Linked DNA regions of Homo sapiens: all the other regions are linked to region 7. The links are contacts of gene promoters, found by promoter capture Hi-C in blood cells and fetal thymus (Javierre and others, 2016). All regions are on one chromosome and are shown on one strand. The core of a region is centred on a gene start or on the middle of the fragment in contact, and the rest is flanking DNA. Distances in the headings are between cores, read along the strand shown. Region 1 has its middle 53 kb from the start of LINC02550. Region 2 has its middle 30 kb from the start of LINC02550. Region 3 has its middle 43 kb from the start of POU2AF2. Region 4 has its middle 26 kb from the start of POU2AF2. Region 5 has its middle 11 kb from the start of LINC02550. Region 6 has its middle 73 kb from the start of POU2AF2. Region 7 holds the start of ARHGAP20 (Rho GTPase activating protein 20).

Region 1 (3,656 bases), core at 988-3,487, 440 kb before region 7:
AATGCTACATCACTGAAACCTGTTTGTAGTTATGTAGTCAACTATTACTCCTATTACTCCAAGTGACTAATGCTAAATCTCACTTCTTTCTTGGGAGGATATTTCCACCATTTTGGGGTTGGGTCTCGGGAGAGAGAGAAAATATGTATTCCTGTGATCAGTATACCTTGTGGTGCATCTGTGGTCTCATGGCTACCTTGGCCGACCTTCATTGTGGGGTCTTTTGCATCTTCTGTTGACTGTAATTCATTCTCTTTCCCCATTTCTTAGTAGAATACCATCGTGTAGACATAATATAGGTACTCAGTATGTGTTTGATGAATGAATAAATGTCTGCTGGCTTGGTATAGTTTCATTTCCTCCACGGGAAGCAAACTGGTAAGTAATGGTGCCTGAACATAGATTTAGTATATATTATATGTTAGCATGCTGTTTCCAAAAACTGGTATTTTCAGTTTGGGTGGTTGAGATGAACAATGAAAGGATGTGCATTTGTTATGATGTTAAAGATCTGACGGTATGTGTGGGAGAAATTCATCTTCATGTATGATATGCTTGTTTTGCCTTCTGAATAGCATACCTTGCTAAGACTTCTGTTAGAAATCCAAGAATCTCCCTCAAATGTCTTGGGTTTGGGTTCCATGTCTAGAGATGCTGGGCTGCTTGTCTCCATGGCCACATCTAGTGGGCACTCACTAGCCCCCATATAGAAGATGGTTCCCACATGTGACCCTCGCTAACACACAAAATTATAAAATATATGCTTACTATAAAAAGAGAGAAGTATGAAGGGGACATGAAGTTTCCCTCACTCTTCTTTCTCTCTCAATTCAACTCCTTAGTGATAACCACTATTAATATTTTCTTTATAAGCAACTCTCAGATATTTTCTATTTGTGTACACACACACACACACACACACACCCACACACCCTTTTACATTTTTTTGACATAAAAGGGATACGTTTGTCTAACCTGCAACCTCTTATTACTTTTTGAAATCCCATTTTCTTGAATTCTGTGACACAATACTCATTTTCCTTCTCCTTCTTGGACTTTTCTCTCTCTTTTCACAGATCCCTTCTCTTCTATGGGCCCGTTAAATATTTGGGTTGTCCAGAGTTCCATCCTTGACCCCATTTGCTTTTCACTGTACTTGCTCTGGTTGGGTAATCTCATCAATTCTCATTGTTTTTTAATTACCACCAGTGTTCTGATGATACAAACAATATTCTCTGTCTCGACCACTTCTTTATGCTTCAGATGATTCATGCATGCAATTTCTTGCTGGACAGATACACTTTGATGACTTACTAGTACCTCAGCCTTAATATGTCAACTCAGACTTGGGCCTGCCAAGCTTGTATCTATCTTAGGAACTTTCACTTACTGCTACTTCTGTTTGGAAGAAGATGTTCTTCAGATGTTCTCATGGATGGTTCTGCATCATCACTGAGGTCTCAGCCCAAATAACACCTCCTCACAAAGGGATTTACACACAATCTAAAATATACCTCCTGTTCCCTACGCCTTTCCTTAATAATTCTCAGACACATTATTGGTGTTATTATTTTTTAACACCCTAACACATTATTGGTTATTAATTTTAATAATGCTTTGCTTTTTGTGGTATTGTTTGTGTAGTACGTATATCATTAAACTGCACTGTATTTTATGATGACAAGGACTTATCTCTGTTGTTTATTATTATATTTCCAATGCCTAGAACACTGCCTGCCTTATAGCAGGGGCTCAAGTAACGTCTGCTGAACGAAAGTTGGGAGGATTATATCAAGGGCATGAGACACACCCAGATAGTCATGTCAGCCTTGAGAATATAAATGAAAACATCTAATTTACATGGGTAGCATAAAACTAGTCAACTTTGGCAAGAAGTCAATAAAAGATTGATTCAAGTCAATGGAATCAAAGGAAAACTGATTGAGAGGTGTTCAGAGGGTCAGATTCAGAGTTTTCTCTCCTTTACTCCCTTCTCTAGGCAGGAGCAGTTACCCACATTTCCTTTTGAACTGCCTGTTTACGGTGCAATTCTACACATGGGCAAGAAGTCTATTAAAGAACATATGTCAGCCAGGGTACTTGGTCACAAATATCCAGAATGCACTCTAGTTAGTTTAGCAGAAAAGGCAATGAGATAACTTATAGAATCTGGAAGGGCTGTAGAGTAAGGCTTGGCAGCCATGTAGCCAGGAACATCACCCAAATCATTCCACCTGCTGTTCCTGTAGAGCCCTTACCTCGGTGCTCACCTGGCACAGGTGCTTCCAATTCCTCATGAATTCTGGGCTAAGAATGCTTCCAGTAGGGTCTCTGCTCCTCTCCAGATGCTACTTCCTCTGAAATATGGATCTCTCTCGATCTTCACCTGACTAGATCCTGAATGGTGACTTCTCCCTTTATGACACTCTCTTCTGAATTGGGATCTTGCTCAGAAGCATCTTATCAATTAAGTTCAGGTCACATGCTTGCTTTCTAGTTGCAAGGGAAGCAAGACAAGTAAGTTCCTGGCTTCTTTCTTGGGAGGCAGCTCTCACAAGCAAGGAGATTCTGTGGCCATAGGAAGGATATTCAAAAGGTCCTGAATGGCCACAAAGAATAAGAGTTGTCCACTACACAGCCCCTCTCGGGGGATGTATTGAGTTCAGTGCAATGCTCTCTTCTTATTTCTGGGACTTTTGCCTGTCACCTAAACACTTAGCTTATATTCCAACCGTTATTATTTACAAATCTGTTTTTTACTTGCTATTGGCCAAAATATTCTGACTGCTGTTAAGTATAGCCATTAGCTTCACAAATATCTCCTCAGGCATGCCTCACGTGAATCTTAAAATCTTTTTGTTAGGCAGTCAACATTTATTGATCCAGGCAATGTGCTCTACATACATTATCTAGGTGCAATACATTCATTATGCCATTGAATCCAAACAACCAAATTATCCACATTTTGTAAGTTAGGAAACTGAGGACCAAGGAGGTTAATTAAGTAAATGATCCAAGATTCTAAATAAACAGTCTGCTACCAATGCTCTTTTCCATTTCTCCTTGTGCCATAAGTTTCTCTGACAAGGGTTGTTTGAGGATAATGAAAGCTTATTAAATATTATGAACACAGTGCTGATAGAATTGAATGATACCACTCCTTTCTCTAGGCCTTTTAGGGAGGAAGTGTTAGAAAAGTCAAATCTGGTTTTCTGACATCTTATCAGGATGATGTGACTCATCATTCCCCAGGCCTTTCACAACCCTCAAAATCACATTTTGTTCATCATTCATCACTTTCCTCTATAACCTCCAAAAACTGTTTCTTCCTGTAAGTGTTTGCAATCTGTGTTTGGCTTCCAAATTAAGAGGCAGGCTGCACATTTCCTATGGACTCAATTAGAGCCTGCAGTGTGATGCCCTTGCTTACTTGTTTTTATTTCCAGATTTCTGTAAGCTCCTGAGTAATTCTGGTCTAGGGCTTAGGGTAGAGATGCATTATCATCCTGACAATGTCGTCTGGTGAGATACATTTTTAGGAGGTAGTAAGTACCAACACTTACGAAGCCACAAGGAATAATGAACTGCCTTAGGAGGTAGCTGATAAGCACAGTTCTTTGAGGATAGGAACTGGGTCACATTTATCTGTTTATCAC
Region 2 (3,696 bases), core at 375-2,874, 410 kb before region 7:
TCTGTGATACATAAACAAACAGGCATGGAGACTATTTGGCTACGAAAAGAGGAGCTGCTAGGAAGTGAGGTCCAGTTTCAACATTTTCATCTGTAGCCAATTCAAAAGATGTTGGAGGCCTGGCAGACATGTCTGCTGAAATGATGTAATTAATTATAGGCTGCATAAAAATATGCTTTGTTTGATTGATTTATCCATTCATTCAGTTATTCAATAGCCATTTTACTGAGCTTCTACTATGTGCCAGGCACTGGGCATGATTTAAGTATTAAATGCGTTTGTGGACTTGTGCTTAAAGCCCACAACAAAGTATTAAAATATTTCAGTGCTGAGGACCTTACTGTTGTTGAGAAATGAAGCACTGATTTTCATACCTATAAAATAACTCCACCATCTGTTGTGATGAGAGAAAACTCTTCAGTGCTTGCTTAAAAATGTTAATGAAGAAGCTTCCCTGAAGATTATATGTAAAATCTCCTAGTTCAAATTTAGGCTGTCATGTTGTAAAACAAGTAGGAACTAGATGAGTCAATGTAGGAAAAAAATTCTTCTGGCCAAAGTCTGCAGAGAGAAACAGGGAAACATTTTCAGATCTGAAGGAGAATGTTAAAGAAGAGCAATTAGATAATCTTATTGTCAGGAGATAATCCATAGAATATATAAAGATCCCTTGAAGGGAAGACAGGAAACAAGATGGGGAGGACAACATAAGGAGTCACCTTTGAGCAATTCAGAAACACTAAATAGGTCAACATAGGAACCTCATATGTGGGCCAGTGTGGAGTAGCATTTGGTACTTCCTAGGAAGCACAGTGCTTCTCCCAGGTCATCTTTCTTTCTTATGTCTGCATAGGATTCATTCTATCTCCCATCTTCCTGAGACCAGATCTCAGGAATTATGTTTTTATAACCTGGTTAGAACAGTGGCTGCTGCTGTAACTACAAACATTATGAGTTCTTCTTCACCCCATTTCCCCTTTCTCTTTTGTGTTCAGGAGCAGAGAGACCAAATACTATTTGTCTTATAGGCACTTATCCATTCATTACCTACAAATATTTATAAAGAAGAACCATATGCCAAGCCCTGTGCTAGTTGGTGAAGCACATGGAAAGGTACCCTTCTGGCCAGGAAGGCCCTCACAGCCTCGAAGGGGAGACAGGCATTTAAGAAATAAATGACAGAATTACTCTTGATTGTCCTTTCTCCTTCATTCCCAGTATCCAGTTCTGTTGTCTCTACCTCCAGAATATGTCTCCAATCAGACTGCGTCCCTGCAGTTCTACTGCCTACACCTGAGTCCAAGGCACTCTTCTCTCTCACCTGGAAGAAAGGGTCCTCTAGCTTTTGTTCTTGTTCTCTGTAATCCCTTTTCCTCACAGCAACCAGGAAGATTGTGAAAAGGATGGAAGTCAGATCAGGTCACTACCCTGCTCAAAAAACTTCCAATTGCTTCCTACTGGATATAAAATGAAATTCAGACTCTTTGCATGGCCTCTATCTCTTCTACTGCATCTGATACCATTGCACTTGCTTCTCTCTATGTTCCCATCACACCAGTCTTCTTTCTGTAGCTCATTCCTCCCTCAAGGCCTTTGCCTCTGCACCACCTCTGTCTGAACAACCTTCTTCACATCTCTGCATGACTCACTGGACCTCAGCACAAATGTTCCTACCTTAGAGAGGCTTTTCCTAACCACCTTCCTTAAAGTATGCGTCTTCCAATCTCTACGTATCACATTACCCTTTCTATTTTTCATGGTATCCATTGTTGTCTGAAAAAAAATGTGTTTATCTCCTCGCTACTTACTGTTTGTAAGTGTTACTACTTTACTGTTGTAAATCTCAATCCCCATTGAGATTGTAAGCTGGGGGAAGCGGGGACTAAACCATCTTGCTCCCTCTCTATTGCCTGGGTATAGGTCAGTATCAACATGTGTTTGTGGAATAAATGAATGAGTATAAGTAATGGAAGTAAAATGAGTATTTGCACAGTCCTCTGTACTGTCCATATTATTTGCAGATTAATCCTAATGCTAACAGAGATAGAATCATGCTGCCATTTGTGGAGTTGTAGGAGTGAGAAGGAGTATTAGAAGTTTGTAATCCTCTGCTCTTCCACAGTATTGGAAATCGGTGGCTTTATTCACTTTTTATGAGCCCTTTGAGGATGTAAATAAAGCCCCTGGACTCTCTAGGAAAATGTATATTTGTACATGCACCAAAATATCCACATAATTTCTTTGGGTTTATGTAGGGTGAGCAACCGTCCCAGTGTGCTCCAGACTGAGGGGTTTCCTGGGATGCAGGACTTTCAGTTCTAATACCAGGACAGGAAAACTGAAACAGTTGGTCACCCTAGGATTATATCCCCCACCAGAAGTCCTTTCATGAATCCCCTAAGTGCCCAAGAAGAACCCTTCCTGTGGATGTTAACATATCAGAAAATGTTAAGTAATTACTGAGCCACTACTAAGAGAAGATAGAGAAGTGAAGCTGATGAAGACAGTGTTGAATGTGGATGTCATTAATGTGTAGGGCAAGTTTGTGTAATGGGATCCCATGCATAAGAGGAGTTTAGAGAAAGCAGATGCTATGAACAGTAATAGCACCACTTTAGGTGATATGATGGGCAGGTGCTTATCACTACTCATGATTGAGTTAGCATAACTTTCCCCCACTCCCTTCCACTCACCAAAACTAACCCATAGTGTGAGTTTTAATGCTATGACTGCCCAGTGCCAGTTGGAGGCAAGGATAATCTCATAATGTGGGAAATCAACATGATAAAGAAAGCTTAAGACTATCTCTTCTAGAAGACCTTCTCTAATACTTGGCAAATTGTGGGAACCAATAAGTATCAGATATAGGTAACCAGGGGTCATGAGTGTTTTGTATAACTGAGTCGTTTAATCAATACAACCCCTAAAGGAAGCTAATTAAATAATCCCTTGCTCTTGGGACGAGGTTATGTATTCACTTGGTATGAGTTTCGGCAAGCTACAGCTATGGGGTCTTCATAAATTTGTGGACTATCTCTTTAAGAAATAACACTGTCATTAAGTTTGAAAATAACTTTTAAGAAGCTTATAGTCATGTTTTGTTTCGGGTGTGTCCTGGGAAGTTGTCCAGGGAGCTCTAACATATACCTTCCAGAGTAAATATCTCTAAGCCATTCTTTCTGTACAAAACTGCAAGGCTGAAACTATGTGCATGGAGTACAACCATTTCTACTGTCTTGCCCATTTGCCTGGAGAAGGGACAAGTGACTGCAGTAGACATTACTAATGTTTCCCAACATTCAGCTCACTTTTTTTCCTGTAGGCAACTAATCACTTGGCCTTACCTTCAGAAGGTGAGGCCATGTTACTAGTCCTGGCCAATGAATCTATATGAGCAGAAGGCATGCTCACCACTTCCAGGCTGAAACACAGAGGAGCAGGTGTGAAATCCTGATGTGCTGTATTCCTCTGCTATTGAGGAGGGAACCTTGTATAGAATTGATGGAGCCACAAGATTGAAGCAGCCTGAATCCTTGAATCACCTTGTGGGTAATACCTGTCCTAAAGGGTCAGTGAGACCCACCATGGAGGTTACATGAGGAAGAAATAAATCTTTGTTCTCTTAAACTCCTGGGATTTCATTCAGTTAATTTACTACGTCAGTGTAATCTGGTCTATTCTGACCTATTCCACATC
Region 3 (3,785 bases), core at 887-3,386, 490 kb before region 7:
CTCTCTGCCAGATCCGTGTCCCTCAATGGCCTACCTCAGTTTCCCAGTCCCTTCATCATGCGTCATCCAGGCATGTCACTCCTAATCTCTACTTCAACATGTGCCTCGTAGGAGTGTGGAACTTGAATAAAGGAGTACCCAACCCAGTCCCTGCCCTCTAAGACCTTAGAGTTTTGCTGAAGATTTAAGGTGTTTGAGATTTTATCATGAAGAAATGTGTCTGATTTAGAAAAATGTCAGCAATGATAACATTATTAAAATACATATATATGAACATAATACATATATAAATATATACATATTTTTTCTTCCAAGTGACTACATTTGGTTAGATCCATAAGCTCTAAATAATGCTTTAAAAATCAGTTGTGTTTTTCTTAGTCAGTTTGGGCTGCTGTAACAAATTACCATAGACCAAGTGGTTTAAACAGTTATGTTTTCACAGTTCTGGAGCCTGGGAAACCTAAGATCAAGGTGTCAGCATGATTGGGTTTTGGTGAGAGCCTGATTCCTGGTTTACAGATGACCATCTTCTGTTTGTGTCCTCACATGGGCAGAAAGAAGAGCAGAGAGAGAAAGCTTTGGTATATTTCCTTATAAGGCCACTAATTTCATTCATGAGGGATCCAACCTCATGATCTAATCACCTCCCAAAGTCCCCACCTACTAATACCATCACATTAGGAATTAGGATCTCAATGTATGAATTTTGGGAAGGAGGAGCAAACATTCAATTCATAACAATATTGTGACTAGGAATGCAATGTATTATAAAACCTAAGCAAATTACTAAATTTCTATATGTTTAACATACAAAACAGTGGATGGTATGAGGCAAGACATAATCAGGTAGCATAAAGAATACCATAGGGTTATGGTAAAGGTGACATTTGTGTGGGCTCCAGTATTGGGGAAAGACTCCACAGATGTTTTGAGACCTAAGTTTGGCCTTGAGTGAGGGGTAAGATTTGGAGTGTAGGAAAGAGAGTGGCAGGACTGTATTGAAGCTGAAAGTGTACACTGATGACCTGGTTTGTTCTGCCTTGCTCCATTTTGGTGAGAGAGAGAGGGATTCTTTTGCATTTTAATTTCTAACAAGGACCTTCAGGCCTGGTTTGGGTGTGGGAAGACTGGTGTTTACTTCCCCTGGCAAGTAAGCAGAACTGGGGAGCTCTGGGTTTTCTGCAGCAGAGGATCAGGTGAGAGGAAAGATGTCTTATGGAGAGGAGACACTGAGCACTAACAGACTGGCTGGTTATGGGGCATGGAAATCATTGGTTGGAGTGAGTTAGCTTCCTGTCAGCTCTTAAGAAATGATGACAGGCATTGTTTTACAGGCAGAGCCATGATTAGAAGAAGGTAAGGGAAATTCATTCCAAAAATGAAGAGGAAAAAAAATCCAGATCAAGAAGCATATTCCTTGTCTTAGGGCTAGGGTTGAGGAGCTGGTGGTTGTCAGTTTCTGTAATCTAGGGATTTGTGTTTTAGTATTCATATGGGGTTAGACAATGAGTGTTTGGCCTAAATGAGGGGGGAGGATGAGTTAGACCTGAGACACTTGAATAAAAGCAAGACCTTTGAAGGGCCATACTGTCAATAAAAGGACGAATTAGGAAAATAGTCCATAGGTACAGAGAGGCAACAAGAGAGACTAGACTGCCTGTCATGAGTGGAAAAATTTCCTGAGAATTTTTAATGACAAGCCTGTGCTTCCTGTTGACTTGGGGTTTGAATTTGTGCCATCAGCTAAGAAATTAACATAAAAATTTGTCCTGAGCCAGTAATACCATGGCAATGGGAGGGTACCATGGAGGGGCAAGTGCTTAAAGTAGTTTGCACCGAATTCTCATAAATAAGACCATACTGAAGATGAACTCACAATCCAAATATAGGTAAAAGCATGTCAAATTCACAATTTCTTTTGTCTTAGAATTTTGACAGGTCCCCCAAGGCTGAGAACATCCTGTGTTATAGCGCCTATGAAGAACAGGTAAAACTTGTAAAGCTGAGGTTTGAAGTGCCCTCCGAGTATGCAAAGGGAGGTTTCAATGTTGATAAGTAGGAATTCTAGAGTGAGAGAGTTGTAGATGAGCTAAGTGTTTCCTCCCCTTCAGTCAACCAAATGGGGCTGGGGGTAGGGTTCAAATATATAACCACTCGGAACGTTTTCTCATATCATCTGTAATTTGGGAGATGTAGGAATGTCCTAATTTATGCCTGGTATCTGATTTATGCTTGGAAACATAGAATGTCAAGAGGCTGGTCAGATGCTCTGAGGCAGAGGGAAAATAGTAGTTACAATGGGAGAAGCTACATTTACACAGAATGGGGGTAAAGGTGAATGTTCTTGTGGGCCAGATGTTGATCATGGGGTGGGGAGAATCTGAGAAAGGGTTTTGCCTCGAAGAATGGAGTCATTCCAGCAGGAAAATTTTGAATATAGAATCCAGACACCAAGGGTCTGTGGTTCTCTCGAGTGGCCCCTAGAGAAGGGTTGCTCAGAGCAGCAAAATACAGATGTAAGTTGTCAGAAGTGGAAACTCTGAGAAACCCAGAGGGCATTTCAGGAGAGAAAGAAAAGGCACATTCCACCATCTGCCACAGCTGGAAGGCACCGATGCCGTATCACCGTTGCGCCAGTCAAGTAGCCCTCCTTACCAAACCTTTGGACCCTAGGTTCACAGAACTGGGTGACTTATAATCTTTGGCCCATGACAGAGACATCATTAGTCTGTGCGTGGACTAATTGTGTATTTATTTTTAATGATGTAATAGGAATCATGAAACCACGACTTTAAGCAAAAGCTAGGACCCTGGTAGCACTCTAAGTCTAAAGGAGTCTAAGTCTCAGTCATCCTCTGGCTCCCTCAACTCAAAGCAGTTAACATTCTGAATCCTATGTTCAGCATTCCCTTCCTTTCTTTTTCTCTAGGAAAAGTTTATTGAGTTATAAGAAATGTACACGGAAGTGCACAAATCTTAAGTATATAGCTCAATAAAATTGAAGTTGTTCTCTAAAAACTCTAATAAACTAGATAAAATTCTGGCAAGGTTTATTCTGATGGCAAAGACAGAGCAAATAATAATAGGAATAAAAAGGGAACAAAGCTATAGATGCAGTGGGTATTTTCAAAAAGAACATCCATGAACAACTTTGTGACAACAAGTTTAAAATATGAAATAGACTATTATCTAGAAAAATAAAATTTAAAAAACGGACTTAGGAAGAAACAGAAAATCTGAATAGATCTAAAACTACCAGAAAAATTGAGGCTGGTCACAGTGGCTCATGTCTGTAATCCCAGCACTTTGGGAGGCTGAGATGGGAGGAACACTTGAGGTCAGGAATTCGAGGCCAACCTGGCCAACATGGCGAAACCTTGTCTCTACTAAAAATAGAAAAATTAACTGGTAAGGTGGCATGTGCCTGTAATCCCAGCTACTTGGGAGGCTGAGGCAGGAGAATCATTTGAACCCGGGAGACAGAGTTTGCAGTGAGCTGAGATCGCGCCACTGCACTCCAGCCTGGGCAACAGAGCGAGGCTCTGTCTCAAACAAAATACAAAAAAAAAAAAAACCAAAAAACCAAAAAAACAAAAACAAACACCACCAAAAAAACCTAAAAAAATTGAATCAGGAGGTAAGAATTTAATATCAGCTCCTCCAGACAAATAAACACAAACCAGAAGCTTATGATGTAGTCTGAATTTTTGTATCCCTCCAAAATTCATATGCTGAAACCTAATTTCAAAGGTGATGTTGTTAAGAGGTGGGGCCTTTGGAGG
Region 4 (3,880 bases), core at 331-2,830, 510 kb before region 7:
TGGTCCTTAGTACCCACCAATCCATCCATTGTCCATGCACAGCCTGTTGTACTACAGTGCTGGATCCCTGTAAGGCCCTACATAGAAGATGAGAAACTTGACACACTTGTGTAAAGGAGGAGCTATGAAAGCAAAACTGCATCGCTGGCCAAGGAAGAACGATTCAGAAGCGTTCAGAAACAAAAGATTTTTCTTTAAACCAGGGAAGCCATGGGTATACTCCCATTGTTACATATTTAGTGAACACAGCTGATTTTCTAGCTTGTGAGTGAAAATGATGCATTTCACCTGAATTTTAAGCTCTGTCGCTGCCAATTTTAGAGGAGCTAATCTTCCAGTTGATAATATTATTTTTACAGATTCAGTTAAATTATAAGGTAAAAAACAATATTTGACCTGGATGATGTATTATGATGTATATTTGGGTGTTCAGTTTGCTCTGGATGCAAGATTTGGCATTCCATTGATTTAATATTCAGGGTTGGCTAGTCTGAATCTGTGGCTGATGATAAACCAAGCCAGCTTTGCAGGTGGTTACTAGTGACTTAGCTGGAAACCCAGCAGTCCAAGTTCTGGCTCCAAAGTATGTGTTTCTAACCTCAGATTCATGCTTGATTGCTTTTGTAGAATTAAGTATACAGAGATACATCATCAAATCAACTACCAGGATTTCTTGAGTAAATTTTAGGATAGAATTATGTTTCTATACCTGTGTGTTTGTGTGTGTATGTGTGTATGCACTGCAAAAATGTAGAAGATGTGACTATAACACTAGAGGAGGTTATAATCTAGTTAGGGAGGTAACATAAAAAGTTATAGGTTTATCTTTAGCATTGTCTAATGACTAAGCTATCTCACAAGTATTTCTTGGTCCCTGAATATGTGCTTATATACATACATAACAGGACATTAACTCAGGAAAGAACGAGATCATGTCTTTTGTGGGAAAATGATTGGAGCTGGAGGCCATCATCCTTAGCAAACTAATGCAGGAAGAGAAAACCAAATGCTGCATGCTCTCACTTATAAGTGGGAGCTAAATGAGAACTTATGAATACAAAGAAGGGAACAACTTGAGGGGTCTACTTGAGAGTGGAGGGTGGAAGGAGGGAGAGGAGAAGAAAAGATAACTATTGGGTACTGGGTTTAATACTCGGGTGATGAAATAATGTGTACAACAAACCTCATGACATGAGTTTACCTATGTAACAAACCTTCACCTGTACTCCTGAGCCTAAAGTAACAGTTAAAAAGCAATAACAATAAAAAAAGCCCAGGGCATTAAAGTTCAAGTTTCAACTAAGGTAATAGATATGGTTTGCCAAAATGAGATGTGGGAAAAATAATACATGATTTTCTAAAGCAATGGTTATGAAGAGTTCCATGGCTGGGTGTGGCAGCTCATGCCTGTAATCCCAGCACTTTGGGAGACAAAGGTGAGAACCTGGGAGTTCAAGACCAGCCTGGGCAACATGGCAAAACCCAGCCTCTAGAAAAAATACAAAAATTTGCCGAGTGTTGTGGCATGCATCTGTAGTCCCAACTACTTGAGAGGCTGAGGTGGGAAGTTTGCTTGAACCTGGGAGGCAGAGGTTGCAGTGAGCCAAAATAGCGCCACTGCACTCCAGCCCGGATGACAGAACATGACCCTGTCTCAAAAAAAAAAAAAAAAAAAGAATGGTTCCACGATTCTTGGATCACCTAAATCAGATCAAGTGCAAAGTATGAGGATTAGATTTTGTGCACAGGATTTCACTAGAGAAAGCTGAGCTTTGACCCTAGAGTAAGAGAGAGAAAAAGAGAGAGAGAGAGTGTGTGTGTGTTAATGCACCTGCTTCCTCCCTGCCAGCCTAATTGGAGGGGAGGGGAGGGGGAGGAGAGGGGCTTCAGGTGATTAAAAGTGCACACTGTGTGTTCCTTGCAGGTAGAGAACACCTCAGATATCTAAGGCTGCTATGGCAGCAAAGAGAGAGTAGAGAGTCTAGTATTGTGTGTTTCTCTGGACTTTCAGCTGTTGGTGCTGATGGGGTAGAGTTGTTTATGTCCTGCCTTAGAGAACAGCCTGGCAGGACATAAACTGCCAAGAGCCAGAGCTGAGGGGATATGGAGAAAAATACCTACTTTTTGGGACCTTGGTTGGAGCCCCACAAGCAGCCTCCAAAGAGCCCATGGAAACACCTTCAGCTTTAAGCATGTTGGACCCAGAGAGCCTGATGCCAACTTACAGTCGTTTCCAGTTACCAGCCAAGCAGGAACTTCCAGTACTTTCGGCTCCCTTTCTACTTCGGCCTTCCTGGCCCAAAGCTGGTAGTGGGTGGGGAGGATACCAGCAGAGAAAGAGAGAAAGCGCTCACTAGATCCCTTTCCCTGATGTCATTACAGCCTTTAGTAAACATGGGGAAAGAAGCAAGTTCCGGCTGGGCGTGGTGGCTCACGCCTGTAATCCCAGCACTTTGGGAGGCCGAGGCGGGTGGATCACGCGGTCAGCAGATCGAGACCATCCTGGCTAACACGGTGAAACCCTGTCTCTACTAAAAATACAAAAAAATTAGCCAGGCGTGGTGGCGAGCGCCTGTAGTCCCAGCTACTCGGGAGGCTGAGGCAGGAGAATGGTGTGAACCCGGGAGGCGGAGCTTGCAGTGAGCCGAGATGGCGCCACTGCACTCCAGCTGGGCGACAGAGCCAGACTCGTCTCAAAAAAAAAAAAAAAAAAAAAAAAAGAAGCAAGTTCCTTTTTGAGGCAGTGGAGTATAGTGGGTGGGAACACAGATTCAGCAATCAGACTGGTTCATATCCCAGCTCTGGCAGCTGTGAGGAGGTAATTATTTTCTCCATGATTTGGTTTCCTCCCCTATAAAGTGGGAGTAGTAATAGTATGCACATCATTAGGTTTGTAGTTTTCTAGGTAAAATTTATTTTTTATAAGTTTTAGATTTACAGAAAAATTATGAAGATGGTACAGAGAATTCCCACATATCCCACACCAGTTTCCTTAACACTTGACTATACTTTGGTACATTTGCTACAGTTAATGAGCCCATAATGATAGATTATTATTAACTAAAATTTACACTTAATTCAGATTTCATTTGTATATACCAAAGGTTCATTTCTGGTTCTAGGATCTTACACAAGATACCATATTACCTTTAGCTGCCATGCCCCCTTAGGCTCTTCTTAGCTGTGATAGTTTTTTAGACTTTCCTTGTTTTTGATGACCTTAACGGTCTTGAGAAATACTGGTTGGGTATCTTGTAGAATGTCTGTCGATGGGGACTTTTCTGATGTTTTTCTCAGGATGAGACTGGGGTCATAGTTTTTTTGGGAGAAAGACCACAGAGGTAAAGTACCATTATCGTCACATCATATCAAGGGTATTTAAAATCAAGGGCGATTTATCTTTGTTAATATTAATCTTGATCACTTAGCTAAGGTATTATTCAGATTTCTCCACTGTGAAGCTAGTGTATCCTCCCTTTCCATACTGTACTCTTTGGAAGGAAGTCACTATGTCCACCCTTGAGGGTGGAGTATCTACATAAATTATTTGGAGTCCTACCTAGAGATTTGCCTCTTCTCTGCCATTTACTTATTTATTCAATCATTTATATCAGTATGAATTAATGGATATTTATTTAATACTTTGGATTATAATCCAATACTACTTTATTTTCTTACTCAGATTGTTCCAGCTTTGACCACTGGCAGTTCTTTCAGTGACTCCCACTTACTTGTTTGTTCTTGGTACCTCTGTTGAAAATGAGTTCACTGTAGGTGTGTGGATTTTTTTCTGGGTTCTCTATTCTGTTCCATTGGTCTACGTGTCTGTTTTATGGCAGTACTGTGCTGTTTTGTTTACTATAGCTCTGTAGTGTAATTT
Region 5 (3,720 bases), core at 861-3,360, 400 kb before region 7:
ACATATAGTCTTAATAGTGGTTCTTTTTATAAGTGGCACAAAAAGAGTGGCTATGAGGAAGAAAAGGGATTTTTAGCATCCTTTCCTTTTGAAATAATCGTGAAACCAGAGTGCAAAAAAACTATTAGTTGGGTTGGATGCTTTTAAAATTACTAAATATTGACCATTGAAATAAACAAAACTAGTGAAGATGATTTTGGGGTGCATATAAAGTAAGATGTTACCTTCAACCATTTGGAAACATAGACAGGCACTCTTAACATCTATTTACTTTAGAAATAAGGTTTTTTTAAAAAAAATTAAAGTGGGCTTGTCAATATTAGCAGTCCAGTACTTTTAGTATAGTGGTCTTATATGAACTTATGTAGTATGCAGTGGCTGTTGAGATAAAACAATGTTGAACTTTCCCCAGATTTCATGAAAAAAATTAAGCTGATGGGTAGAATAATAGATTTTTCTCCCACATATGTATTTTAAAATTGTGTCTGATGCTACTTGTTTAATATCATATAAGCTAGTATCTATTTAATTTTTAAACACTTTATTATTGGTAGGCTTATTTTTTATATTTCCTGGTATTCTACAGAGTATCATAACTTTTAGCCTGTATATTACTTGAACAGATTTTAGAATTTAATTTGATAACCCTATCCTAACACTGTCTTTTGATCTATAAACCTAAATAACCAATTACTGGACTTGGTTACTCACATGTTCCTGAGGCCTCTCAAACATAATGGTTCTAAAATAGCAACCTTCCCTCCTAAGGCTACCTGTTCTCTTCTCTCTGCACTATTCGCTCAGTTTCCCAAACTTTAAACTTAGAGACATCCTTGATTCCTCAATATTTAATGGGTCATCAAGTTCTGTCAGATTTACCTATTCAATATCTCTGTAATTAATTTCTTTCCATTGTTGATTTTATCATTTTGGCTCCAGTTTCTTTCTTGAGAATGAGATACTAAAGCAACTTTCCAGCCTCTCCCTGGAGTCCTGTCTCCTTTCATCTCTTCTCTGTACTGCGACCCGGAATGAGTTTTCAAAAACACCAATGTGATCATTATCCCTTCCTTCTGGAAAAGAAGTCACTGGCCTCAGAATAAAACCCAAGCTCCTTTGCATGGTTTATGTCACCATCCATGCGTGGTGAACACCATTTGCACTCTCTGAAATTAATGCCACAGCCAGCGGAACCATGTGCAACTCCCTGGATGCAATAAGCTCCCTTCTGTTTCTATTCTGGAGTGCATTCAATCATCTATCAAAATGCTACTGAGTGCTGCCTATGTACTAGGCACTGTATGCTATTAAGATGTTCACAGCCTCATGGGGAAACCAGATACATAATACATAACTGGAATATCTTTTGGTTATGTGCAAAGAAAGACCTATGTACAAGGTTATAGAAATATGAAGTATGGGTGCCTAATCCAGCCTGAGAAGATCAGGGATGGCTTTCTGGTAAAAGAGGCAACAATTCTGAGTCTTAAATGATGAGAAGAATTTAGTTCTACCCCTAAGAACTTAATACAACCATTGAGGATAGTTGCATAGCACTTTACATGTATGTTCATGATAAGAAATCTAAAAGTTAGTAGGTACTACTACACTGTATGTCAGGCAGTGGATTAAATGTTTTACTTGTATCCTTAGTATTGCATTATAATGTCCATTCAAATAGTTCACTGTGTTGTGTTCACATAAATCTAGAATAATGAAATAATAAATTTATGTTAAAAAGCAAAGTACACTTATGATAGAGCTAGTCCTTTCAGAAAAGTGGTGTTTTCACAGATCTAATGAGGAGACTACACTAGAAGGTCCTGAAAGTAGGAAAGATTGTTCCTATGAAGCTGGAAATCAAGCTTCATATTAATTTGGAAACATATTTGTTCTGTGAAAAATATTGAGCAAGTCATTTTTGAAAGTAAAATTTTTTTTGTAAGAAGCTGGTAGTATAGTTCCAGTTCTTTCATCATCTCCATCATATCAATAAGGGTTTGTAGTGCTACACTGAGACCAACTCTGGTTGATATGAGCAAAGAACTGAATTCAAGAGTTAGGCTGATAAAGAGGAAGTGGAGAGGAAAATGGTGATGGGATGGTAAAAAGGAGAAGCCAGAGAAAACACAGTGAGCTGGGGTGACCAGAGTTCATTCACAGTGCTTCTCTTACCACACAATTTCAATTTCTGTTGTATACTCTCTAATGGTGGGACAGTATTGTTGCATTAGGAGGTGAGAACTGCAGAGGTAACTTCCTTATAACAATGCTTTCTGAAGCCATTGTTCCCATTAATCTTCTTAGTAAAAATAGCTCATGTTGGTTAAGTTGTTTCAACTTCACTAAAGCTTGAAGAAGATGCAAATAAATTTATAAAAACAAGGGTGAATGGAGAAAAATACTGTGGTCATAGCACTGAGAAGCAACCAACTGAAGAAGAAGTGGAGACTTTCCAGCGAAGTTTATAAAGACCATTAAGTTTGGATTTGCCATAGGCAGTCCTACAACAAAGGAAGCCTTAGTCATATCCATCACATTAGGACCAAGGAAGTCTAGAGACTGTTCTATCATTCCAGAACTGTGTTCAGAAGCAGCAGCTTTTAATGAACCAGAGGAAATGTCTTTAGAAGCAAAGCTGAAGATGATGAACGTTGGATGGGACAAACCAACAGCCGCAAGACCAAACCCTTTCAATAAAGAACACAAGGGGTTTTTGATCATCAGAAACTACGGGAGGGAAATATAAATTCTCACCTTGGAAATGTTTATGACCAAGATAATTAAATGATGTGTTCTGAGAATGGGATATGGCAGCTGCTTTCTTTCCTAAAAAGAATTTATTTTTATTTTTGATTGAAAGGGACACTAATAAATTCATGAGTTTGGAACTAGAGGTAATTCATGTTTTATGTAAAAATTTTAGACACTTGATATTTTTGCAGTTTCATGTGATCAGTTTCCAAATCTAACAGATAATAAATCAGAAATTGTGGTGGGGAAAGGATGCTGTGAAGCGGATGGAATCAGTAGTAATGATGGAGAACTAGCTTGAAGCTGTGCAGACAGGAGAAATGCCCTGGCTAGTCACATCATCCATCTATTCTTGTAGGGACAACATCGTTGCTTCCACAGAGCATGAATGCTGCAGCTGGCCCTGTCTATACTGCTGGACACTGGGTGCTGGGTACTAGCACTGGCATGGTTGCCACTGAAACTTTACAGACTTGGTCATCCTTACTATTGTTGCCACCAGCAACAGTTGTTTGTGGTATTTTGTTTTGTTTAGTTTTCCATCCTTATTGCTCAATTCAAAGACTGGGGTGTGTGTCTCTATTTGGTAGAGCCTAGGACATGTGCCTTTGCCTTACTTGCAAGCCAGCCTGGGTAAAGTATAATAGTGTCAGGGAATTTTAGCTTCTACAACAAGAAATAGGTTCTGTCTTATGCCTTGGGAATTCCCTAAGTAAAGGAAGGGATTCTGATGCTGGCCAAATGGAAAGACCATGTCTGCTCTTCTCCCCAAAGCACCTAAGTTCCAAATGCCTGCTGTGTCTGATGACAATTGAGACTGTAAGCTAATGATTTAGATGAAGAATTATGGGGTGCATAATTGAATTCATAACTGAACCCTGAAAGCTACATATCCCAGGCCTCTTGCTGAGCATTCTACCTCCTAAGGTTAAAATTTACTGATTTGCTCTTTCCCCTCTTAATGTT
Region 6 (3,772 bases), core at 139-2,638, 460 kb before region 7:
TCTCAAACTCCTGACATTAGGTGATCACCCACCTTGACCCCCCAAAGTACTGGGATTACAGGGCGTAAGCCACCACGCCTCGCTTGATCTTTTGTTGGAAATGAATAGTGTATAAATTATCTCAGGGAAATTTAAATAATAAGCATACATTCTAATGCAGTCCTCAGTGTAGCTTTGTGCCCACTGTCTGTTTTCTAGAGCCCTCTTCAATACAGTGTAACCTACTCAACAATGTGTTAATAACATCTACTAAAAACACACTGGATTCCTGGGATGTCTTAACCATCTAATATCTACTGTTGAAAATTGTAAGTCTTCCTTTTGGTTCTGTTAGTGCTCCATAGAATTCGTTATGACACGGATCATAAAATAAATCTTCACAGTTCATTAGTAGAGTCTAAAGCAATTCTGAACACATTTTACTTGCTTCACACCTGTTTGCTTAAATGTAAATATAGAAAATACCTTGTATTCCTGCTCTAGAATTTGTAGTGGGAATTCATATTAAACAGTTCATAGAGTTGTGGAATCTGGATTTTTAAAAAAGAATTAAAAACTAATGAATTTGTATTTAGAGTTTAGAAAGTACAGAACTTATTTCAAACTAATATAGTTAGTTGTCTCTGTTTTTAAATGAAATTCCTCTCTGAGGCTGCTTTATTAATGAAACCGATTGCACTCCCTCACTACCAGGCTGGGGGTGGTGGGCTCCACGTGAGTGAGCATACTTGCTTCTTTAGGGAAGCACAGAATTGCTTGAGAAAACAAGTCAGCAGTGGTGAAGACTGGAGCTTGGAAACATGGGGTCTAGGTATTTCTCTTGTCCTCAGCTTGGTTATGTAGAGTAGCTGTTCTCAGTTTCTGTAGCTCAGAAACAGTGTTTCCCAGACTTCCCTGATGGAAAGAACAACCTGAGGGGCTGGCAGACAGACAGTTCCCCAGACCACTGTGCTGGAGATTCACATCCCAAGGGTATGGGTTGAGGCCTGCGGATTTGTATTACTGATGAGGACTCAAGTAATTATTTTCGTCAAGAGGTTTGGGAAGGTATTTCATTGAAACCCTTCCTCTTTCTTCCTTTTTAACCCCCATCCAATTCTTCCAAAATCACAAAATGACCACAAGAATATTACAATCAGTGATACTCTTACTTTCCGAGTGGTTTCCTGAGTTCCTGCCCCCACACCACCATTACTTTTACATGCCATCCTCAGCTTATTCTTCTGGAAACTCAGCTCTGAGCACTACTTTCCTCTTTAACAAACACCAAGACTGCTCTGTGGCCTGTTATATTGTGTCCAGATTCATCAGCCTGGAATTTAAGGCCCTCTGTAAATTGGCCCAACCTGCCTTTTCAAATTCTTTCTTACCAAGTTCCTTTATACAGTGTTGGATTCAGCCAGGTTGTGGCCATTTGATTCCCCCTGTATACATTCTTTAATATCCTGCCTCTTTGCCTTGGCTTATACTTTTCTTTCTGCCTTGAATAGTTTTCTTCTCATCCATCCATATCCGTGTCTCGAATCTGTCTTTCAGGGGCCAGTTCAAAGTTCCCTCCTCTCTGAGGTGTGACCTCATTTGACCAGTCAGAGAATAAGAATCTATTGATGCCTGTTTGTCAGGCATGATGCTGAATCCTTTATATGGATGATCTCATTTGAATCTCAGAATAATCCTTTGAGAGGACTTTCTTTCCTCCGGAACTCATCCCCACTGTACTTCTCCTTCTTCTTAGATTCTATATTTGCGAATTCACCTACTCGCTAAATTTGGTTATAAACTCCAGATCAATATTTGTGGCACGTTTGAGGTCATATGTGGACACGCATAGAGTGGTGAAAAATCTGAGTTGCCTAAATGCTCATGTTCCCAGCTGAGGTCAAACAGGGCCACACTCTGCCTTTTTGTTTCTGCTCTCATGTTAAATAAAAGACCTTTTGGAAGTCTATTCAGTGCCATGTTTTTTGCATTTTGATGCTTTTTGTTAGTAATTTTGCTACTTAAAATGGTCCCCCGTGCTGTCTAGTGTTCCTAAGTACAAGAAGGCTGTGATGTGCCTCGTGAGAAAATGCATATGTTAAATAGGCTTCCTTCAGGCATGAGTTATATGATGTTGGCCATGAATTCAATGTTGATGAATCAACAATACAGTACATCCAGAAAAAGAAAGGAGATATTCGCTAATCTGGGCCACTGTGGAGGTTGCTAAAGTAACATCTGTAGTGTGTGATGAGTCTATGGAAAAAGCAGAAAAGCAGTTAGACATGATAACTGATTAAAAAACACATAGCAGACAGCAGAGTTGTGAGACTGGAAGCCAAAGAAATTTATGGTCACATTTCCCTGGATCAGGAGAATGTGACACTATTTTTGGCTAGCATTGGCTTGGCTGGTTCACACATTCCAAAAGGTGATATGGTGTGAAAGTTATTAAACTTGCAGATGAGGCAGATTCTACAGATCAGAAGGCTACAGAAGAATTGAAACCCTATCTCTACTAAAAATACAAAAATTAGCAGGTGTTGTGGCACACGCCTGTAATCCCAGCTACTCGGGAGGCTGAAGCCGGAGAATTGCTTGAATCTGGGAGGCGGAGGTTGCAGTGAGCCAAGATTGTGCCACCGCACTCCAGCCTGGGTGACAGAGCGAGATTCTGTCTCAGAAAAAAAAAATTAAAAAATAGTTGCTAAATATCATTCAGGGAAAGAGTTATGTGGAAGAGCAGGTTTTCAATGCTGATGAGACTGGCTTGTTTTACAAGGAAGTTCTCAAACAAACCTATATAACGCAACTGGCAGAGGCTCCCAGGAACCTAATCTTGTATTTCTCCTAGGAGCAACTATTTAGTGCTTGCTAATTCAGTGTTCAGAGCAATTTTATGGGCCATAACTCTTGTTGCTAACAATGAGAATCGACTGTACTTTGTTTTAAACCTCCTTTATAAAATTTATTATTTTCTACCTTGTATTATAGATATTATAATATGTGTCACCTCCCTTACAATAGTACTAATTTATAATCTCTTTCTGGGGAAGATTCTGTACTCATTCATTCAGCAACAGTTTTTGAGTGTTCCTTATGAGACTACCTCTCTACCAGAGGCAGAAGACATGAAGGTGAATGAGACCAAGTCCCTGCCTTTGGGTAGCTTTTTGCCCCGTGGGAGGAGACAAAAAGTAACAGAAAGTTGTCACAATGATTCAGAGAGGCACAGGAGATTAGATGTGATTCTTCAATGGATTAAACATAATTTATAGCCTACACATTGAATGGATGGATCTGCCATTGAAATATCTTCTGAATGCTTCATCATGATCTGATCGTTTTTGCCGCTAAGTCACCCTTTTTCTATATCTATATTTAAATCTTTCTATCAGTTTATTTTTCTGAAGACCCATAATGATTAATGTGTGGTTTTGGTAAATATGGAACAGTTGGTTTACATATTTACTGCCATTAACATGAATTGATAAACTTCAACAGGAACATAACTCTTAGTAGTTCTGGTAAGAAGAGCATCAGACAGAAGCTCTGCCCTGTGAAGTTGCCAGCACGTGAGATGAGAAGGCAGCGCTGAGCCTGGCACAGCAGGTATGTCCGTGGCTATGCTGCAATAGAACTGGCTGTCCGTGCGTCTTTCATGGCAAACCTTGGATGCTGAGTGCACATGCCGGTGCTGACCGTACAAGGCAAGGAAGGCACCAGCAAGACTGCGCAAGCAGCTCCAGGGCTTCTCATTCCAGCAGACCCTGGCTTTACCGTACTAACCCTA
Region 7 (3,866 bases), core at 1,157-3,656:
ATATAGAAGGAAAACTTCCCACGCAATGCAAACAGCAGGTTCAAAGTCACAAAGATGTGAGAAGGCAAGGCGAGTTCTTGGAAGGTGACTTCTTGGCGAATTCAATGTGACAGGGAATAGGGTGAGAGTTGAAGAGGAGCAATAAATGACAAGAGAAATAAGTGGAGGCAAGGATGTCTGTTTATAGGCAGTCTTGCATATCATACTATGGCATTTGAAATTTATTCTGTAAACACAAGGAGCCAAAGAAGGGTTTAATCAGGGGAGTGATGTGATCAAATTTGTGTTCTTAAAACACGATTCTGGTGATAGCATTAATCTGAGCAAAGTCAGTTTTCTTTAGGTATGGGACAGTTTTCTATGCAAACCAAAACTAATGGGTTTTGAAGTAAAAGCACTTAAAAATTAAGAAGTAAGAGTGAGTTTTCCAAATCTGCAGTAAAATACTACTTTGATTTGGAACATGTAGTATTGATCACAGATCAAACCTGTGCAAAAAAGAAGATCACAAACAGAAACATGGGACACTCTGAGTGAAACAACCAACTCTACCAGTCTGGCCCTTCTAAGATCTATCTCATAACCCTTGTATGCCTCATTAATTCCCTTAGCAAACGAACATTTATTGCACCAGACACTGCTTCAAGCACTTGGTATACGACAAAGAACAACAATAACAACAACAACAACAAAAGCCCACAAAAGATTCCTGCCCTCTGGAAGCTTGCATTTCTCTGAGATATAGATAATAAACACTAAACATACTAAGTAAATTACATGATATATTAGAAGGAGATAAGTGTTATCGAAATAAAACAGAGTAAGGAAAATTGGGAGCGTGCATTTATGATAGGAACCAAAAGAGGCTAACGAGTTGTAAGTGGATGATTTCAGCAAGGAATGAAAGGAACTGCAAAGCCCTCTGCGTGTAGAATTCATGACAAACTCTATGGTGGGGGCAAAGTCCTGTCGCTGCACATGGGTCTCAGCTGCAAAAAGAGAGTAGCCATGAAAAACTGTGTGTGTATATGCACACATACATAAACACAATAATAGATGATTTACAAATCATACATGTGATTTATACGTGTGTGTGATTTATACGTGTGTGTGATTTATAAAGCCTATGTAAGCCTACTTTAAACAGTGTGAGGTGGACAAGGCTTAAAACGGGCTGGAACATTTTCCCCCTATTATTTCCACAATAAACCATTCCTGGGCATGGTGGTGATGTGTGCGCGCGCGAGTGTGTGTTGGACAGCATCCCTTCCTTGGAACAGAGCCGGCCAGAGCCCTATTCTTCTACAACCTGTCCTAATAACAGCCTAACCTGGCAGGAACCTCGATTTTTTTCTTCTTACCACAAAAGCAAACCAAACCCCTTCCACAACCTAATATCATAGCGTGGTGTCCTTCCTCACTAATCCGCCACTGCTTCTCTAGTCCTGACTCCAAGGGAAGAATGCCATCTACCGAATCATCCGTACCAGTCAACCAGCCCCGCAAAGTGCAGCAACACTCAGCTCAACGCGGGTCAGCTCCAAATCCTCTCCCTCTGATTATTCTTTGGCCTTTAAAATATTTTTGCCTCTATTTGGGCTGACAGGAAGTTATGCTCTCGGCGCAGATATCTGATAAACACTTCCACATATTGTAGCCTTCTCAATAGCTTAGCCAAATTTCGGCGTCCTCGCTCTGTCTGCATTTTCCTTCATTGCTCTTTCACGTTTGGAATGCCCCCGTCTCTGCAGCCTGCAGACAGCGGAAACCGCGGGTGCAAATGTGCAGGGGCCGCTGACATGACCGGCTGCAGAAGCCCACTCAGGGTTACCCGAACAGGCTAGCGTTCGGGATTGCACAAGAGGTCAGGCGATGCTGTGGGCTTCCAAATTTGTACAGCTGCGACACTCTGCGACGTGCCACCCTATCCCCAGTGGGGTGGGGTGGGGGATTCCCTCCGCAGTCCGCTGAAAGCGAGGCAGGAATCACTGCAACTCCTCTGCTCAGGCTGAGGTCGCCACCGCTCCGCGGATGCACGCGCTGCAGGGGCGCCTTCCGCCGCGGGCACGGCGCGGGAAGGGATGGGGTCTGGTGGGAGTGGGCAGGTGGCGGGAGAGGCGCGTGTCCGTGCACTAGAGGCCCCCGTGCGTGACACAGGCCGATGAGCTCCTGCGGGCTGCACCCACGCGGAGTCACAGACCGAAAAGGTCAGCCGGTGGCCGGTGTGCTAACATATATAGAGAGACGCCCGCCAGGCGCGCCGCAGGCTGGGACGAGGCTAGGAGGGCCCAGGCTGGAGGAGGGCTGAGGAGGGCTGCGGGGGCGGGCCCCGGCGCAGGGCGCCCGGAGCGGAGGGGGCGGGCCCGAGGCGGGGCGGGCCGCGGCGCTGACGGGCTGTCGCCGCTGCACTCGCCTCCAGCCCGCGGTGTCGAGCGCAGGCGGAGGTACATGGCCCCGACGGGAGGCGCGCGGCGAGCACCCGGAGCTCGGCTCCCTGCCTGAGCACGGCAGCCGCGCCTCCGCCCGCGCGTCCTCGCCCCTCCGGCCGGCAGCCCGCGGACATGATCGTGTAGCCTCCTCCTGGGCTGGGATTTGTTTGAAGATTTTCTTCATGGAAGCGATGTCCCCCCAGCAGGAGACTCTAGGGGGACAGCCGGGGCGCTCCTCTTCCCTGACAGGAGTGTCTCGGCTCGCGGGAGGCAGCTGCACCAAGAAGGTGAGGACGCTGAGCGGGGGCCCGTGCCCTCCGCCGCCGCAGCCCCCACTGCCGGCGCGCGCCCTCCGCGCCCGCCACAGCAGCGCGCTAGGCGGACGCCGCGGGAATTTGACGCTCGAGGCTCGCGGCCCCTAATGAGAGTCCCAGAACACTTCCCGCCCTTGACGGCCAGCGGCAGCGCCGCCGCCTCCCGCAGAGCGCCCGCTTCTCCGTTTCTAGAGCCTTAGTCTCTCCTCGAGCGACCTCGCAGCCTCCCTCCCGTCTCCATCCGCCGCCGGTTCTGCAGCCCGGCTCCTCCCTCAGTCTAGGCGCGCGGGCTGTAGTGGGCGATCGCCTTTCCCCGACCCCTCGCCGTGCCCCTGGGCCTCCCGAAGTGGCCTGGGCGAGCACTGACTGCCCTTTGGCGGTGTCAGCCCCAAAGTCAGGGCCGGCGATGTCTGCCCGGGAGCGGCAGCCGGCGCTGAAGAAGGTAGGCAGCGGGGCTGCGGCGCTGGTGGGCTCGGCCCCCTCACCTGCCCGCCGAGGCGCGGCTGCTCCATAGCAGTTTTCGGGGGGCAGATATGGGGAGTACTGCCCCCCACACCAGGGTCCTGGATGATTCCGGGTCTCCCAGGTGGGGGTCACAGTTTGAGGGGCGACTGTGGATGATAACGCTCGACACTACGGGGACATGTAGGTTCGGCTGGGCCTAGAACCGAGCAGGGTGGGGGCGGGTGGGCTGTGGTTGGGGGTCCTGAGGGCTGAGGTGGGGGACCTTCTCCCTGCACTGGTCCCTGGCCCCTGGGACTCTGGCCGGGCTGGATAGGGATCCGGGTGTCGGTGTGGGCGTGGGGGCAGCGCGTGTTCCCTGTCAAAGCTGGGAGAGGGATGCAGGTGACAACTTGTAGCGTTCCATTCCGATAAACACGGCCGCTGTGCTGCGGGAGGATTCCGATCCGGGTCAGGTTTCGCTGGAACGGTTCCCTGAGCAAGTGCACGTGGGCCGCGGGCTGCCGGCCTCTGCCGTTTCGCTCCCTGAGGAATTGATTTGGGTGTTTCTAGCCCTGTCTGCCTGTCCCCCGCCTCCCCACCCCCGCTTCCAGCATAAGACTTTCCGATATTTTGCCTTTTTTTTTTTTTTTGCCTTGTCTTAGTGGTGCCCTTCCAGCTT

The links. The method cuts DNA at HindIII sites, captures the fragments that hold promoters and counts their contacts. A CHiCAGO score of 5 or more calls a contact.
Region 1: a fragment that was not itself captured here is called in contact with the fragment with the promoter of ARHGAP20 in region 7 in 3 of 17 cell types (M0 macrophages, M1 macrophages and total B cells); the score reaches 6.8 in M0 macrophages.
Region 2: a fragment that was not itself captured here is called in contact with the fragment with the promoter of ARHGAP20 in region 7 in 1 of 17 cell types (M1 macrophages); the score reaches 6.5 in M1 macrophages.
Region 3: a fragment that was not itself captured here is called in contact with the fragment with the promoter of ARHGAP20 in region 7 in 1 of 17 cell types (M0 macrophages); the score reaches 5.8 in M0 macrophages.
Region 4: a contact is called between a fragment that was not itself captured here and the fragment with the promoter of ARHGAP20 in region 7, in 1 of 17 cell types (M2 macrophages). The highest score is 5.0, in M2 macrophages.
Region 5: a contact is called between a fragment that was not itself captured here and the fragment with the promoter of ARHGAP20 in region 7, in 3 of 17 cell types (M1 macrophages, M0 macrophages and monocytes). The highest score is 6.2, in M1 macrophages.
Region 6: a fragment that was not itself captured here is called in contact with the fragment with the promoter of ARHGAP20 in region 7 in 3 of 17 cell types (naive B cells, M0 macrophages and M1 macrophages); the score reaches 6.6 in naive B cells.

What each region holds. Positions count from the first base shown.
Region 1 is chr11:111,148,759-111,152,414 of GRCh38, reverse strand. No RefSeq gene overlaps it. Among named protein-coding and RNA genes, the nearest start is that of LINC02550, 53 kb to the right of the region's middle. The HindIII fragment of the contact is 1,750 bases long and covers 1,363-3,112 here.
Region 2 is chr11:111,125,051-111,128,746 of GRCh38, reverse strand. No RefSeq gene overlaps it. Among named protein-coding and RNA genes, the nearest start is that of LINC02550, 30 kb to the right of the region's middle. The HindIII fragment of the contact is 2,345 bases long and covers 452-2,796 here.
Region 3 is chr11:111,201,242-111,205,026 of GRCh38, reverse strand. No RefSeq gene overlaps it. Among named protein-coding and RNA genes, the nearest start is that of POU2AF2, 43 kb to the left of the region's middle. The HindIII fragment of the contact is 3,110 bases long and covers 582-3,691 here.
Region 4 is chr11:111,217,599-111,221,478 of GRCh38, reverse strand. No RefSeq gene overlaps it. Among named protein-coding and RNA genes, the nearest start is that of POU2AF2, 26 kb to the left of the region's middle. The HindIII fragment of the contact is 5,885 bases long and covers 1-3,880 here.
Region 5 is chr11:111,106,122-111,109,841 of GRCh38, reverse strand. No RefSeq gene overlaps it. Among named protein-coding and RNA genes, the nearest start is that of LINC02550, 11 kb to the right of the region's middle. The HindIII fragment of the contact is 486 bases long and covers 1,868-2,353 here.
Region 6 is chr11:111,170,974-111,174,745 of GRCh38, reverse strand. No RefSeq gene overlaps it. Among named protein-coding and RNA genes, the nearest start is that of POU2AF2, 73 kb to the left of the region's middle. The HindIII fragment of the contact is 6,572 bases long and covers 1-3,772 here.
Region 7 is chr11:110,710,977-110,714,842 of GRCh38, reverse strand. ARHGAP20 (Rho GTPase activating protein 20) reads left to right here and starts at 2,406. Exons shown (of 15, transcript NM_001384657.1): 1 at 2,406-2,716. The coding sequence starts at 2,612. RefSeq lists silencers at 2,295-2,454, 2,475-2,534 and enhancers at 2,058-2,559, 3,542-3,866. The HindIII fragment of the contact is 6,153 bases long and covers 726-3,866 here.